Linked DNA regions of Homo sapiens: all the other regions are linked to region 3. Evidence: promoter capture Hi-C in 16 types of primary human blood cells and fetal thymus (Javierre and others, 2016). All regions are on one chromosome and are shown on one strand. The core of a region is centred on a gene start or on the middle of the fragment in contact, and the rest is flanking DNA. Distances in the headings are between cores, read along the strand shown.

Region 1 (2,700 bases), core at 9-2,508, 280 kb after region 3:
CAAATTCAGGTTTCCCAGAATAGCGACGGCCAAGTCTTGACTCGATGGCCATCTGACTGGAACACCACAGAAGGGAGCCCACACCAGGGAGAAGCTGAACTAGATGAGTGCTGAGACCCCTCGCCTCTATCTGAGTCTTCTCAGAGAAAGGCCAGTTTGAAAGCAGCCACAGCCAGGCGCAGTGGCTCATGCCTGTAATCCCAGCACTTTGGGAGGCTGAGGCGGGTGGGTCACCTGAGGTCAGGAGTTTGAGACCAGCCTGGCCAACATGGTAGAGACTAGAAACCCCATCTCTACGAAAAATGTAAAATATGAGCTCGGTGTGGTGGCGGGCACCTGTAATCCCAGCTACTCTGGAGGCAGAGGCACAAGAATCGCTTGAACCCAGGAGGTAGAGGTTGCGGTGAGCCTAAATTGTGCCACTGCATGACAGCCTGGGCAATAGAGCGAGACTGTCTCCAACAAATAATAATACAAAATAAAAAGCAGCCACAGTAGATCTCAGTCCATGTGAGTCTTAGGGAAACGCCAGCCTCACGTTGTTAGCTTCAGCACTGCCTTCCGAAACCACAAGGGAAAAGCCTAGTTCCTCTTCCTCATGGCAGCCTTTCAAATATCTGCAGGTGGCTCTTGAACAGTCTGACCACAGCCCAGCATAGGAGGCTGTCGGGAAAGCCGAGCACGAGTGAACGAGGGAAGTGTTTGGGCTGTGTGGGATCCGTGCTGTGTCGGCCCGAGGAGGGGAAGCCCAGCCTCACAGCTCTGACATGGCCCCCTCTCTCCTCCCCACAGAACAGGAGGTGAGGTTCCGCCCTGCACACTGGCCCCTGCCTCGGCCCACGGCCATCCATCACATCGTGGAAGACTTCTTAACAGACTGGACTGCCCCGATCGGGCACATCCTACCTCTGAGGCGCTTCCTGGAGAACTGTTTGGACACCGATTTGCGAAGCTTCTATGCAGGTAACTTAAGCTCCCAGAAAGACAAAGGGTCTGAGCTCCAGGTTGAAGAAAGGTCACAGAGACCCAAGACCCGTGGAGTTTCAGGACCCATATCTGGAAATCCAAACCCCAGACTACTGTTCCCGACAATGCCGTGGGTTAAATTACAACTCACCTAAAAATAATGGATAATATGTCTTCTTTTTTTTTTTTTTGAGATGGAGTCTCGCTCTGTTGCCCAGGCTGGAGTGTAGTGGCGCAATCTCAGCTCACTACAACCTCCGCCTCCCGGGTTCAAGCGATTCTCCTGCCTCAGCCTCCCAAGAAGCTGGGACTACAGGCACATGCCACCATGCCCAACTAATTTTTTTATTTTTTAGTAGAGATGGGGTTTCACCATATTGGCCAGGCTGGTCTCGAACTGACCTCGTGATCCGCCTGCCTCAGCCTGCTGAAGTGTTGGGATTACAAGTGTGAGCCACCGCACCCAGCTGATAATATGTCTTTTCAAAAGGATTAGCAGGGCCAGGCGCCATGGGAAGGCGCCAGGGCCAGGTATGGGTGGGAAGACAGAGCTGGAGCAGGATGGGAGGCCTGTTTAGAGACACTCCAATAAAGCTTGGATCTCAGTAGGGAAGCTGGGAGCCAAAACCCTCCAAAGGAGGAGATAGATGACATGCATGGTTTTGGCCCTAGATAGAGTGGGAGAGAAAAATCTCTGAAAATATTCAACCAGTAGGCCCTGCTTATGTAAATTTGGGGCCAAACTTCATGAGATCATTGAGCTATAGAAATCACAGAAGCAAATGCACACCTTCTCAAGAAATACACTTTTAGGCCAGGTGCAGTGGCTCACGCCTGTAATCTCAACACTTTGGGAGGCCGAGGTGGGTGGATCACCTGAGGTCAGGAGTTCGAGACCAGCCCTGGCCAACATGGTGAAACCCCATTTCTACTAAAAGTAGAAAAATTAGCTGGGGGCAGTGGTGGGTGCCTGTAATCCCAGCTACCTACTCGGGAGGCTGAGGCAGGAGAATCGCTTGAACCCGGAAGGCGGATGTTGCAGTGACCCGAGATCATGCCACTGCACTCCAGCCTGGGCAACAGAGCGAGACTCCATCTCAAAACCAACAACAACAAAAATGCCAGGGTGTGTGAGGGAGTGAATTCCCACCCTGAGTTGTGGGTCCCACCAATGCATTGTCCCAGGCCCTTTAGCCTCCTGTCTCCCACTTTCTAGACACTGTTTGACTGTACAGGCCACTGTGTGCTGCTGCCTTGGACTGGAGAGAATCCGCCCAGCAGGCGGCCAGCTGGCATAGTGGCAGCCGTCCCTCTGTTACTGTAGCTGATGTGCAGCTGTTAGTGCTGGCCCCAGATTCTGCTGAGCATCTGAGCCCCCTGCAGAAGGGATGATGTTGTCAGAAGGTGGTGCCTGCCAAACAGCCACCTTGCTGCCCTCCCAGTCTTCCCGCTGTCCTCTTCCTCATCTGCTCTCTTACCCGCTTGGAGAGGCTTGCCATGGCCTGGCCTCCCAGGGGCCTCCATGCTAAGAGTCAGAAATAAACAGGAAGTCATATTTCTGGAGCACCTTTCAGCCTGGTCACCCATGGAAGCCTCACGACATCCTTTGTGCTGTGCCCATTTTTCACTTGAGATAGAGGGGCTCAGGGAGGCAAGAAGGCTCGCTCAGAGTTACAGAAGGACTCCAGCCCATTCCTGACACTCTGTCTGCCCTTGTCTCTAACTCCCTCAGAA
Region 2 (2,700 bases), core at 88-2,587, 450 kb before region 3:
GGATCTCCTTCCATGTGTGTTCAGCCCGTTAGGTCGACCCCAGTAGAGACAATCTTTGCTTCTATATGATAATAATGTCAGTAAATAACTTCCTTTACTCATTGTCTTGGCTCCCATGCACATATTATCTCATTTAATGTTCTAATAGCCTTCCAAGATAGGTACTCTTAGCCACGGTTTGCAGAAGAGGAGATGAGGATGCGGGAGGGCACAGGTTTGGCTCAAATTGACAAGGCAGATGCTGTCCTTTCCCACCCTCTCCCTCTGTTCCCATCCTCCTTGCTAACAGAATCCTAGTTTTGTGCATAGCAGCACCGTACCTAACACCAACAAAATACTCGTTTTTCCAGCTGGTTTTGTCACTGGGGTTTTCAGGCCACATAGTTCTGGCCTAGAAGCCGATGTGAATGAAAGTCAGCGGGAGAGATGGCTTCTGTGAAAGTTGTTTTCTTCCTTAAAAAAATGACAGGCCCAGGCCGGGCGCGGTGGCTCACGCCTGTAATCCCAGCACTTTGGGAGGCTGAGGTGGGCGGATCACGAGGTCAGGAGATCGAGATCATCCTGGCTAACACGGTGAAACCCCGTCTCTACTAAAAAATACAAAAAAATAGCCGGGTGTGGTGGTGGGCGCCTGTAGTCCCAGCTATGCGGGAGGCTGAGGCAGGAGAATTGTGTGAACCCGGGAGGCGGAGCTTGCAGTGAGCCGAGATTGCGCCACTGCACTCCAGCCTGGGTGACAGAGCAAGACTCAAAAAAAAAAAAAAAAAAAAAATGACAGGTGGGATGTCTGGAGCTGCAGCAGCCGTCTTGTGAGCTTGAAGCCACAAACATGAAGATACAAGGCCCCGTGCTGAGAGGGGATGAGCAGAAAGATAAAAGGAGCGTGAGTTCCTGGCAGCAGCAGTGGGCAGCTGAGCCAATGCTAACAGCTGCCTTGTTATGGGAACTGAAGAAAATGAAACCACCCAATTGTTAATGTCACCGTTGGTCACACCTTTTGTTACGGTAAGCTGACAGCATTTGTCACTGAAGCGGTAGGACTCCTAGCGCAGTGCTCTTCCCACTGTATAACTGTTCCCAGCAGCCACTCCAAGTGGGGTGAGCCACTTGTTTCTGCTCTGCAAATTGGCTGAGGATGGAGGCCCCTCATATAGGAAAGAGAAAGCTTATGGGAAGTCAATGAGAACCTGTTTTGAAACAGGAAGACCTGCCGGTTGTGGGCAGGAGCTGACACCATGGTTTGCTCTTTCATGTGACAACAACCCCTCCCAAGTGCCCACCTAGTGCCAGGCCTGGGCTGGCAGCAGGTTCCATGCCTCACTTCGCCCCTTCTTGCAATGAAATCATGGCCTGGTGGTTGAGGAAAGTGCCTGCCAGACAAGGCCACTTCATCTGGTGCTTTCTATTCTAGAGACTGGCTGTTCCTTGTCCCTTCTTCAAAGCGGAGGCCTGGGGTCCCCCAAACTCCTCCGATCCTTTCACCCTGGCATTCACTGGCCACCAAGCTTGGACAATTCAGCCTCTGTCTATTAAATCCACCCCTTGTCCCCACGGCTGCTCCCTAACCTAACCCCTGCCATGTCTCCCCTGGACAGTAGCCACAGCCTCCTCACTGGCCTCCTGTCTTCCCTCTCTCTGCCTCTACTCCATTTGCCACCAGGTGGCCTGGGGATTTTCCTCATTTACAAACAACTGTGCAGTCAAAAATGCTGATAGAACCACAGACTTATTCAATCATTGAATCCTTCAGCAAATAGTTATTGAGACCGTGTGTCAAGCCCAAGGCTTGGGGGTGGGTCAAGCATGAGCCCGCTCTCAGGAGCTCACAGGCCAGTGGGGAGGCTGTCCAGCCAGCAGAGAGCCCCAGGAAATGGCCCTTCTGCTTGGATGTCTCCTGAGCATTTCAAACTCACACGCCCCGCCCAGCCTTCATCACTCAGTAAATGCATCCAGGCTCTCAAATCAAAAACCTGGGAGTCCTCCTTGACACCTTCTCCCTCACCTTCCACTTCCAACCCATCACCGACAATCTCCTCAGTGACCCCCTTCTCTGCATTGTCATGGTTTCTAATGTCCAAACCAGCACTGTATCCTCCCTGTGGTAGCCTCCTGTCATAGTCAGCAATTGGTACAATAATGCTGTGTAACAAACCAAACTGCCTTGAAATCCAGAGGCAAGAAGCAGCAGGCCTGTATTCTCACACTCACTAGTTGTAGGTGGACAGTGGGTCTGCTGACTTAGGAGGGTTTGGCTGGTGACTTGGCTTCGGGCTGGGGATGGGTGGTCTCGGTCCTGGCTGTGGGTGTGTGTGGGTCGGCTCCACCTGTCTCTCATCCTCCTTAGACCAGCATTCCCTGGGGCATGTCCTTCTCATTGTGGATCACAGGAGCATGAGAAGCCAAGCCAAACCATGAGGTGTTTAAGGCCTCTGCTCATGCTTCACATGGCCGAGCCCAACACCACCAATGGGGCAGGGACAGGAACTCTTCCCAGACTTGGAGGAAAGGAAATATTTGCTGAGCACCAACTGAGCACCAATCCTAATGCTCACACCTCCTGACTGGCCTTCTTGTTTTCACTCTTGCCCTTGGCCATGGTTTATCTCCACGGAGTGGCCAGAGTGATCGCGTTAAACTACCAATCAGATCAGACCACTCCCTTGTATAACACCGTCCAGTGGTATCTCTGGACATTTGGCA
Region 3 (2,700 bases), core at 32-2,531:
TCTGGATTCGGGGCTGAAACCATCAGCCATTCATAGAGTGTGTGTGTTTATTCCCCCACACAAGGCTGGCAGCCACTCTGAGATGCAGAGTGGCGGAGAGGTGGAATGTTCTAGGTGTCTGGAGGGAATGTGGAACTTTCGCACAGGCACCTTTGCTGAGGGGCTGCTCTTCCCTTCAGCATCAGCCATCAGAATCCCAGGGGCCCTGAGAAAGTGAGAACAAGGGGTACATTCGGCCAACCAGTGACAGTGATGATAAACCAAATCTGTCCAGATAAGCTTCCGCTCTCCCATCCACCCCACAATCACGTGTGCACCTACTATCTCCCAGGCACTCATACGTTTCTCTCCTTCCATCTCCACAACCACCCCACAAGGCGGGTTCTCCTAGGCCCATCCTGAGGCTGAGGGATGAGGTGACTTGTCCAGGCCAGGGATTTAGGTCTCTGACCCCCTAACCACGTGCAAGAGGCACCCCCAACCCAGTAAACGCGTACAGAGAGCCTCCCTGGGTGACGGGCAAACGAGGTTAGTGATGCATTCTCCTTTTGCAGAGAGTAAATGGACTAAGAGCAAAGTACGACTTCAAGTTTCCGAGTCTCACCGCTTAGCCCCATCAAAGTGTATTTGTTCTCCCTTTGTTCACAAACATCACTTTAATAAAACACCTTCATATTTTAGATTTTAACGCTCATTACATCTTTGAGCTTTTAAAATGAGATTTCCCTGCGGGATGCGGGGCAAGGACTGCACTTCTCCATGCACTTTAATAGCCGCGCTGTGCAGAACCCGGGAACCGGGGAAGCCGCGAGAACCGCGCGAAGTCAGAGCAAGTCAAAACGACCTCTACAGCGGCGGCCTGGCCCACTGCGCAGGCGCCGCTCCAGACCGCCTAGAGCCCAACCTGCCCCATTGTAGGCGAACCCACTTCTAGAAGGACAGCGGGAGTGGCGAATCCCTATTCCTCCCGAAGATGGGTCAAGCCAGACTCTGACCAATCAGAAAGCTTCTCTTGTCACCGCTTCTGACTGCTTGACGTGGAGGCTTCTTTATCTCGGGACTCTCAGGCGCAGCGGGGGCGGGATATAAAGCTGGTTGACGTCAATTACAACCACTCGTCAAGCAGACTGAACTTGAAGAACTGATAACTCTACGAATTGCATCTCAAGAAAAGGCTGTTATCCCAGCTCTCTACTCCCATTGGATTTTTGTGAGACCTTGAGGGTGGGAGCTTTTGGCGGCAACCAATCGAGGGTCAGCGAGGAGGAGGAGGAGGCGGGGCAGGTGGGCTATGGTTGCTTGGAGAGTGCATCCGGCCCGGTACTTGTGATCGGAGGAGAGCCGGATCGTCCTTCCTTGAACCCTCTGGGTAGGGCTGTGCTGAGGGGCTGGGCGGGGAGCACAGGCCGTGTCCGCTCGCTTGCACCTTTTCAGACTGCCGTGTCAGGCCTCGAGCCGGGCCCACCTGGAGCCCTCCCCTGCCCACCCGCCCCCAGCGCCCGATATCCGCCCCCGGCCCAGAAGGGCCGGGCTCGGTCATCCCCAGTCCCGTCGCGGCCACTGACCCTTGAGATCAGCCCTCCCCTCCCCACCTTCCCGTCCCAGGCCAGCCCAGGGCCCGAAGCCCACCCACTCGCGTCTCTAGCAGCCGCTCTTGTCCTCTGGGTACGGCTCGCGGGAGTGTTGGTTACCATGGTGAAGCTGGCAGCCAAATGCATCCTGGCAGGTGAGTCTGAAAACTTGCGCTTGAATACGGTGGTCTCTGGAGTCCAGAGCCTTCATAATTCATCCAGAGCTTTTGTTCACCTAAATTGCCTACCTTTTCCTTTCTCTCTCCCAAAGGCGAGTTACTGCAATTACTGATACAGTAAATTACGTTAGGCGTGGAAGAATGATCTTCCAGGGCACTTCGCAGCTCCAGTGGATTTCCCCCTGCTCCCTGTCACATACTCTGAGACCACCTTCACCAGTTGAGGTGACTCGTTAAAAAATCACTAGTTACAACTCTGGAGAAGCAGACTTGTTAAAACAAAACAAAACAAACAAAGCTTAAGCAAACCTTGAGTGCTTCAGCTAAACATATACTGTACCCCAAAGTTAGGCATCAGTGACTTTGGTAGTCTTTACTATGGGATTTTTCCCCCGACCTCACCCCCTCTGATAACGGTGACCTGAGTGTAGTGACCAGAGTTTGCAAAAGGCACTTGTGTGTTGTCTTTAAGACCCAAAGTTACTGTGCTGCCCCACTCCAAGAAGGGCATAAATGTTGAGTCTCCCAAAGGCAGGAATCTTTGTTTTGTTGACTGATACATCCCAAGCACCCAGAACAATGCCTGGAACATAGTAGGTACTCAATAAATACTTTTAGAATGGATGAATATGTGAATATGTGGCATGCACATTTGTAGTGTACCCCTTGTATCAGTCTGCACATTTAGAAAAACAATATTTTGGATTATAGACTGCGAAACACATATGCATGTTACTGAGTGCTTACTGCATGTGAAGCACACATATTTCATGTAATCGTCTCACCATAGCACACTGGGCTAGGTACTGGATTGTTTTTCTTTTTTTTTTTTTTTTTTGAGACGGAGTCTCACGCTGTTGCCCAGGCTGGAGGGCAGTGGCGCAATCTCGGCTCACTGCAACCTCCACCTCCCTGGTTCAAGCAATTCCCCTGCCTCAGCCTCCCAAGTA
Region 4 (2,700 bases), core at 109-2,608, 440 kb after region 3:
GCTGAGGCCTGGGGCTGATGTGGCCTCAGTGGAGCTTTAGGAGATGTGCTTGATCCAGAGTTGGTTCTTCTGCAGCCCTGAGACACTTTTCTGTTCCCTGGGATGCTGGTGGACCAGACAGGTGCTGTGGGAAGCAGGCCCTGGGCCACCACCCAACACCATGGCTGCAGCCGGGAGGCGCTGTCCTCGAGCTGATGCGAGCTGGCTGCTTTGTGCTGCTCCTCCAGGAAGGAAAGCCCGGCCCCAGCATGAGGCTGCTGAACTACCCATGGTCCTGCCTGTCAGTCTCATTTCTAGAACTTCTTCTTTCTAGAAGAGGAATCTGCAGTTAACGGGCCCTTTTCAAGGATTCAGCGTTAGGCTTACTTTTTTTTTTTTTTGTAAATCCAACCCAACAGGCCCACCATGCTTTGCTCTGGGCCCACTGAGCGGGAGATAAAAAGGAAGTGGCCTCTTAGAACCTGAAATTTTGGGTGGGGGTGTTTGGAAGCTTTGCCCAGTGTTTTTTGTTTCTGCTCCCCATCCCCTGAAATAAACCAACAACAAAAACTCACATCAAATCCCTAATCACTAAGCCACTTCGTGCTTTTGGCCTCCCGTGACGAGTTCTCTTGCTGCCTGGTGAGTGTCACCTACCAGCCCGTTTTTCCTGTTCTCTCCAGCTCTGGCTTAGAGACTTCAGTTGAACTGTGTCCCAGTTTGTCAGGGCTGAACAACAGTGTGTTCAGAGAAAGGAGTTGCTTTCTTTTACATACCTGATTTCTGGAATGAAGTTATCAGTTGAGAACCAAAGTAATTCCCTACAACTAAAGAAAGATAAATGAACTGAAAAGCTGCAGGTATAAAAGTTGGGATTCTGCACGTGGCTTCTGTCAAATTTGTTTAGTCTTGACCAAGGCTGTCAGCCCCGTGTGGACCTTGATCATAAACTCCATAAACTCTTGAGACCCCAGGTTTTCTTTTGGCAAACAGACAGTACTGATGGGGGCTCAGGATGTCATTCCCACCTGGCTTTGGGATTCTTCCTGAAGATCTTGTCTCTTCCACATGAGCTGGTCCACAGATACAACAGGGCACAGGTCTAAGCTGAAAGGAGAGGAAGCGTGAGCCGTGCTCCAGGAGTGAATCCTAGCCTAACAGTCACCGACATGCCTTTCCTTCTACCGACCGCTCCTCCGAGGCAACGTGTTCATGCGCTGTTAACTGTTCACCTCCTACCATTGATGTCCCTGGTGCTCTCAAGCACGTTTGACTCATCAAAAGGAGTTTCACAAAGCTGGTTGCTGTCTTTGCAGGCCTGTTTGTGCTCCAACAGGGAGCTGAGTTTGTCATGAGCAGTGCCTGGCTGTGTCTGCCATGCTCCCTGTGTGTGTCCCAGCTCCTTCCCTCTTATTCCCTGTTGATCCAGCCCTCTGCAGAAGTCAACAGGGGCCCCTCCTGCTTTGTCTTTCCTTTTCGCAAGGGAAATGTTAGGTAGGAGCAAGGCGGAACCGGACTGGGAGTGTCCCGGTGGCATGTGCTGTGGGTGGTCAGCACTCGTATGTGGTTTTGAATTTCCCTCCAGTCTGACAAACCTGTTGGAGCTGCCTTGGCAACAACCCCAGAAGGAGAAGTTTCCCCCTCCTGGCCCCACCCACAGAAACAGCAGTGCTGTTTCTGGCAGATTTGCCTGTGTGCTGGGAACTTACCTGTGTTTTCCTAATGCATTTTGGCCAAGAGAAGGCTTGTTTGGGGCCTCGCTTAGTCTGACATAATGAAAGTTAAGAGCAATACCTTGAGGTTTTTTTTTTTTTTTTTTTTTTTTTTTTTAATTATCCAGAGTGTCTGGAGGGGGAGGGCTACCCATTCTCTGCCTCCTATAAGTGGGGACTTGGGTCTCAGCAGGTTCAAACCAGGTTCCACCTGGGAGATCACAGGGGCTATGGGGCAGAGGCACTGGGCCGAGTCGAACTGGCTTCTGGTGTGGATGCTGCTGAGCAGGCATGTCCCTTGGTCTGGGCCTACCGTGGTGGCCTGGAGGGCACACTCGCCCATGACCACATTGTGTGCCTGGGAGCGACGGAAGGGGCTTCCTCCTTTGCTGGCAGATTGCTAGGCAGGCAGGCTGCCAGGAAGCTCCACCCCACTCGGCACAGATCTGCAGCCTCTGCTAATATGAAGCATCATTTTGCACTTGCTTTTCTTCACCTCTCTGTTTGCCTCCCAAAGACTTGTAACCCAAGCTTGTGAATTGAGCTGGCTGTGGAGAAGCAGAGCTTCTCGTCATGAGAGTGTCGCGGCCCTTTCTTTGCAGCACTGAGGCAGGCCTGCGGGAGGTGCCGAGTGCTGTGCTCATAGGGGTGTTCGATGGAGGGGAGTCCTGGGGTGCGTGAGGTTTCCAGAGACCTGAGTTCTCAGCCCCATTTGTGCAACTCTGATCAAGCCATCCTGGCAACGCAGGGCAGGGCTCACAGTGCCAACACATATAGCAAGCCACCCCCCAGGGGCCACTCTGGAGTTTCCCTGAAAGCAGAAGACTCCCTGGTGGTGGAAAGTTTTGGTCCCATTTGTCTCAGATTATCCCATCAGTCTCACCCAACGTGGGCATGTTGTCCAACCTGAAACTGCCCTTTTTCCTGTTTTTCTTTCTTGGCCCATACCCATTTCTCAAGAAGCCCAGTGGAGCCGAAGATGGGGTCCTGCAGGGACCTCTCCCAGGTG
Region 5 (2,700 bases), core at 196-2,695, 400 kb before region 3:
TGGGGCACAGCGTCCCCCAGGAGATCTGCCATGCTTAGTACTGATGACCTCAGCAAGCTGGCTGAATGCCCATGTAATCACCTCTGGGGCAATCCCTTTAAGTTACATATTTTGAAAACGTTTTCCGCCTGAAACGTTAGGCAATGAGGAAGGGGAAGGAAAGGGTGGTCAAGAGGGGAAGCAGCCGTGGGAAATGAAAAATACCCCTGACAAGGAGTGTACCCCAGACAGGGCGACCTCACCCCCACCTTGCCATCGTTTTGTTGAGTGGCCCGGGGCAAGTGCAGGGAAGATTAAGGGGGAAAGGGTGATTAGATGGGAGCCTGAGTTAAAATCAGGGGCAGAGCTGGTGCAGGGATTTTAGCTTGATGGTGTCCCTGGTGACCTGCTGTCTGGATAGATGGGCTGGATCCATTTCATGGGCTAGGTTAGGTTGTGTCTGGAAGTGTTCAGCCTTCCTGGGGAGATGAGCGCAGGAGCTCCTCTGCCACATGGGAGTGTGGGGAAGGGAGTAGATAATTCTTATGTGGCGATCTGGGAAGGCTTCTTAGTGGAGGGGACATGTGGGAAGGGCCTTGGAGGGTGAATAGGAGTCTCAAAGGCACTTGACATGGGGCAAGGAGCTGATGAGAGGAAAGGGTTGCAGGCGGACCAATGTAGTCTATGCTCTGGGCAGTGGGAGAGACCAGTAGGTTGGATAGATGTCTGGAAAGGAGGCAAGGAGAGCAGAATGGGGTTTGAGACAGGAAAGGCCTGGAATGTCAGGCTAAGTCTAGGATTGACCTCTTTCTTAGGTGCTGGGGTGCCTTTAAGAGGCAGATCACTCTGCAGCCAGGTGGAGCACAGGCTGCAGAGGGTGAAGCTGGAGGCAGTGAGGGGGCCTGTGCCATGGTCCAGGGGAGGACATAGAACGCCTAGAAACTGGGTGAATCATGATGTCATCCTGGAGGGGGAGGCATGTCCCCAATTGACTTTGAAGTTGGTGAGAGATTCAACAGCAGAGAGGAGGCAGGAGGGCAGCTGGGGGTTGTTGGGGGGACGGGGTCCAGCTTGGATTAAGGGTCTACCAGGGTGTTTCTCCCACAAGGCTTTCGTTAGCCAGTGGGAAGCCAGCAGGCCGGGGTGCCAGGAGGTGGGCTCCTGTGGCAGCTCTGCCCAGGAGAGTCCCTTGTTTGGCTGGAGGACTGGAGGGTGCTGGGTAAATCGTTTAGCCTTTTTGGGCCCCATATTGTCCTTATCTGTAATATCAGATGCAAAAGCCCTTCTCTCTTACCCCACTGAGGACTTCAGGGTATCCAAGGCTGCAGGGGCATGGCTATTTTCAGAACCCCAAACCAGGACCCATGGAGAAGTGGCAGTGGGACAGAAAACGTGAAATTAGCAGCAGTTGTCCCAGAGAATACTAAGTGTACGGGACAGGGCTGGGGAAGCCTGAGAGAGGTGGTGAGTGCTCAGACGCCGGCATGTATGGAATCTGGAGCCAGGCTGCGGGTTCTGACCCCAGCACACCCTTTCCTTAGACCAGCTCCTGGTTCAGGGCGCACAACATTATTTTTCCTATAGTATGACCGGGGCTTGTCACTTCCTCTCTGTGAGTCTTGGCTTTGTTCCGATAGAGGACTCCACGTGACGATGTATCTCGGTATTAGCAGTGTCTGGCACACAGCCGTGCTCAAATGGCATGGGTTCGATGAGTGACCTCTCTGAGCATCGTGGGAAAGGTGCGGGGCGAAGTGAGAAGCAACAGTCTCTGGCCAGGGAGGAGGCCCTGCAGCCCCCCTCTCCTCTCCCCGCCTCCTCCTCCACTTGGCAGGCCCGTCACAGTAGCCACATACTGCCACGTGTGCGTCTGGAGGAAAGGAGAAACACAGGCAGAAACTTAACATGACCAGAAACAGATGTCAAGAACATTATGGGTGAGGCCAGCGGGTGGCCGCAGGAGCCAGAGAGGAAGGAGGGATTTCCAGGACACGAGTCAAGGGTGCGTGGGGCTAAGCTGGCGTGGCTTTGGAGCAGCTGGCCTTCAGACCCAGGAGGACAGGAGGCGGTGGTGACCAGCACCTGGGGGCTGGGGTCGTAGCATACAGTCAGGTGGGCTGTGGAGTTGCAGCCTGGAGGTGGTGGCATTGGCGGCAGAAGTAGGGTTGCTTCACGGGAGGAAGGAGTCATTGGAGAGGGCTGGCTGTAGGCGCGTGGAGGAAAGAGGTGACCCTCTGCAGGTCAGCAGTAGAGTGGGAGGGTGGGGCGGTTCCTGCAGGTGGCTGGCTGCTCTTCGCTTCTGGTGGGAAGGAATGGATGCCACAAATGCAGATGTATACAAAACAGGCCGTGCTTTAGTTCTCTGAGTAAATTTCACTCCCATTAGGCATTTCCATGGGCTGAAGTCAAAGAAATGTGATTTTGGCAGCTGGGATTCCTCCCCGCCCCCCGATATTTCCCTGCGGCTGCATCTAAGTGCCCCTCCCTGCCAGCAGGGAGGAGCTGGGGCACTCCATGTCCACGTTTCCTCTGCGAGTTTGGCAATGTCCCATCTGCTCTGGGCTCCGGGTCCCACTCCCATACCTCCTGATTCATGCTCACTCCCACAGCGCCTCCCGGGTCCTCATCCCTCTTGGGACACCTGGGTGCTTCCTGTACACAAGTTCCTTGCCTCTCTGAGGGCTGTCTCACCCAGCCCTATCTGCCCGGATACACCCTGGG

The links. The method cuts DNA at HindIII sites, captures the fragments that hold promoters and counts their contacts. A CHiCAGO score of 5 or more calls a contact.
Region 1: a contact is called between a fragment that was not itself captured here and the fragment with the promoter of IFT27 in region 3, in 3 of 17 cell types (M1 macrophages, M0 macrophages and M2 macrophages). The highest score is 6.2, in M1 macrophages.
Region 2: a fragment that was not itself captured here is called in contact with the fragment with the promoter of IFT27 in region 3 in 2 of 17 cell types (naive CD4 T cells and total CD8 T cells); the score reaches 5.6 in naive CD4 T cells.
Region 4: a contact is called between a fragment that was not itself captured here and the fragment with the promoter of IFT27 in region 3, in 1 of 17 cell types (M0 macrophages). The highest score is 5.4, in M0 macrophages.
Region 5: a fragment that was not itself captured here is called in contact with the fragment with the promoter of IFT27 in region 3 in 1 of 17 cell types (endothelial precursors); the score reaches 6.5 in endothelial precursors.

Annotation. Positions count from the first base shown.
Region 1 is chr22:36,491,896-36,494,595 of GRCh38, reverse strand. FOXRED2 (FAD dependent oxidoreductase domain containing 2) reads left to right here. Exons shown (of 9, transcript NM_001102371.2): 8 at 793-963. Among named protein-coding and RNA genes, the nearest start is that of TXN2, 12 kb to the right of the region's middle. The HindIII fragment of the contact is 608 bases long and covers 955-1,562 here.
Region 2 is chr22:37,221,077-37,223,776 of GRCh38, reverse strand. No RefSeq gene overlaps it. Among named protein-coding and RNA genes, the nearest start is that of SSTR3, 10 kb to the right of the region's middle. RefSeq lists a silencer at 855-994. The HindIII fragment of the contact is 340 bases long and covers 1,168-1,507 here.
Region 3 is chr22:36,774,700-36,777,399 of GRCh38, reverse strand. It overlaps IFT27 (intraflagellar transport 27), which reads left to right and starts at 1,281. Exons shown (of 7, transcript NM_001177701.3): 1 at 1,281-1,726. The coding sequence starts at 1,693. RefSeq lists enhancers at 1-452, 980-1,239, 1,018-1,581 and silencers at 1,480-1,529, 1,660-1,719. The HindIII fragment of the contact is 1,042 bases long and covers 1,009-2,050 here.
Region 4 is chr22:36,331,771-36,334,470 of GRCh38, reverse strand. The region is part of intron 3 of MYH9 (myosin heavy chain 9); the gene reads left to right. Among named protein-coding and RNA genes, the nearest start is that of MIR6819, 46 kb to the right of the region's middle. RefSeq lists silencers at 1,541-1,590, 1,641-1,730 and enhancers at 2,151-2,390, 2,611-2,670, 2,304-2,700, 2,235-2,700. The HindIII fragment of the contact is 1,732 bases long and covers 493-2,224 here.
Region 5 is chr22:37,175,808-37,178,507 of GRCh38, reverse strand. The region is part of intron 1 of IL2RB-AS1 (IL2RB and C1QTNF6 antisense RNA 1); the gene reads right to left. Among named protein-coding and RNA genes, the nearest start is that of IL2RB-AS1, 10 kb to the right of the region's middle. The HindIII fragment of the contact is 3,052 bases long and covers 1-2,700 here.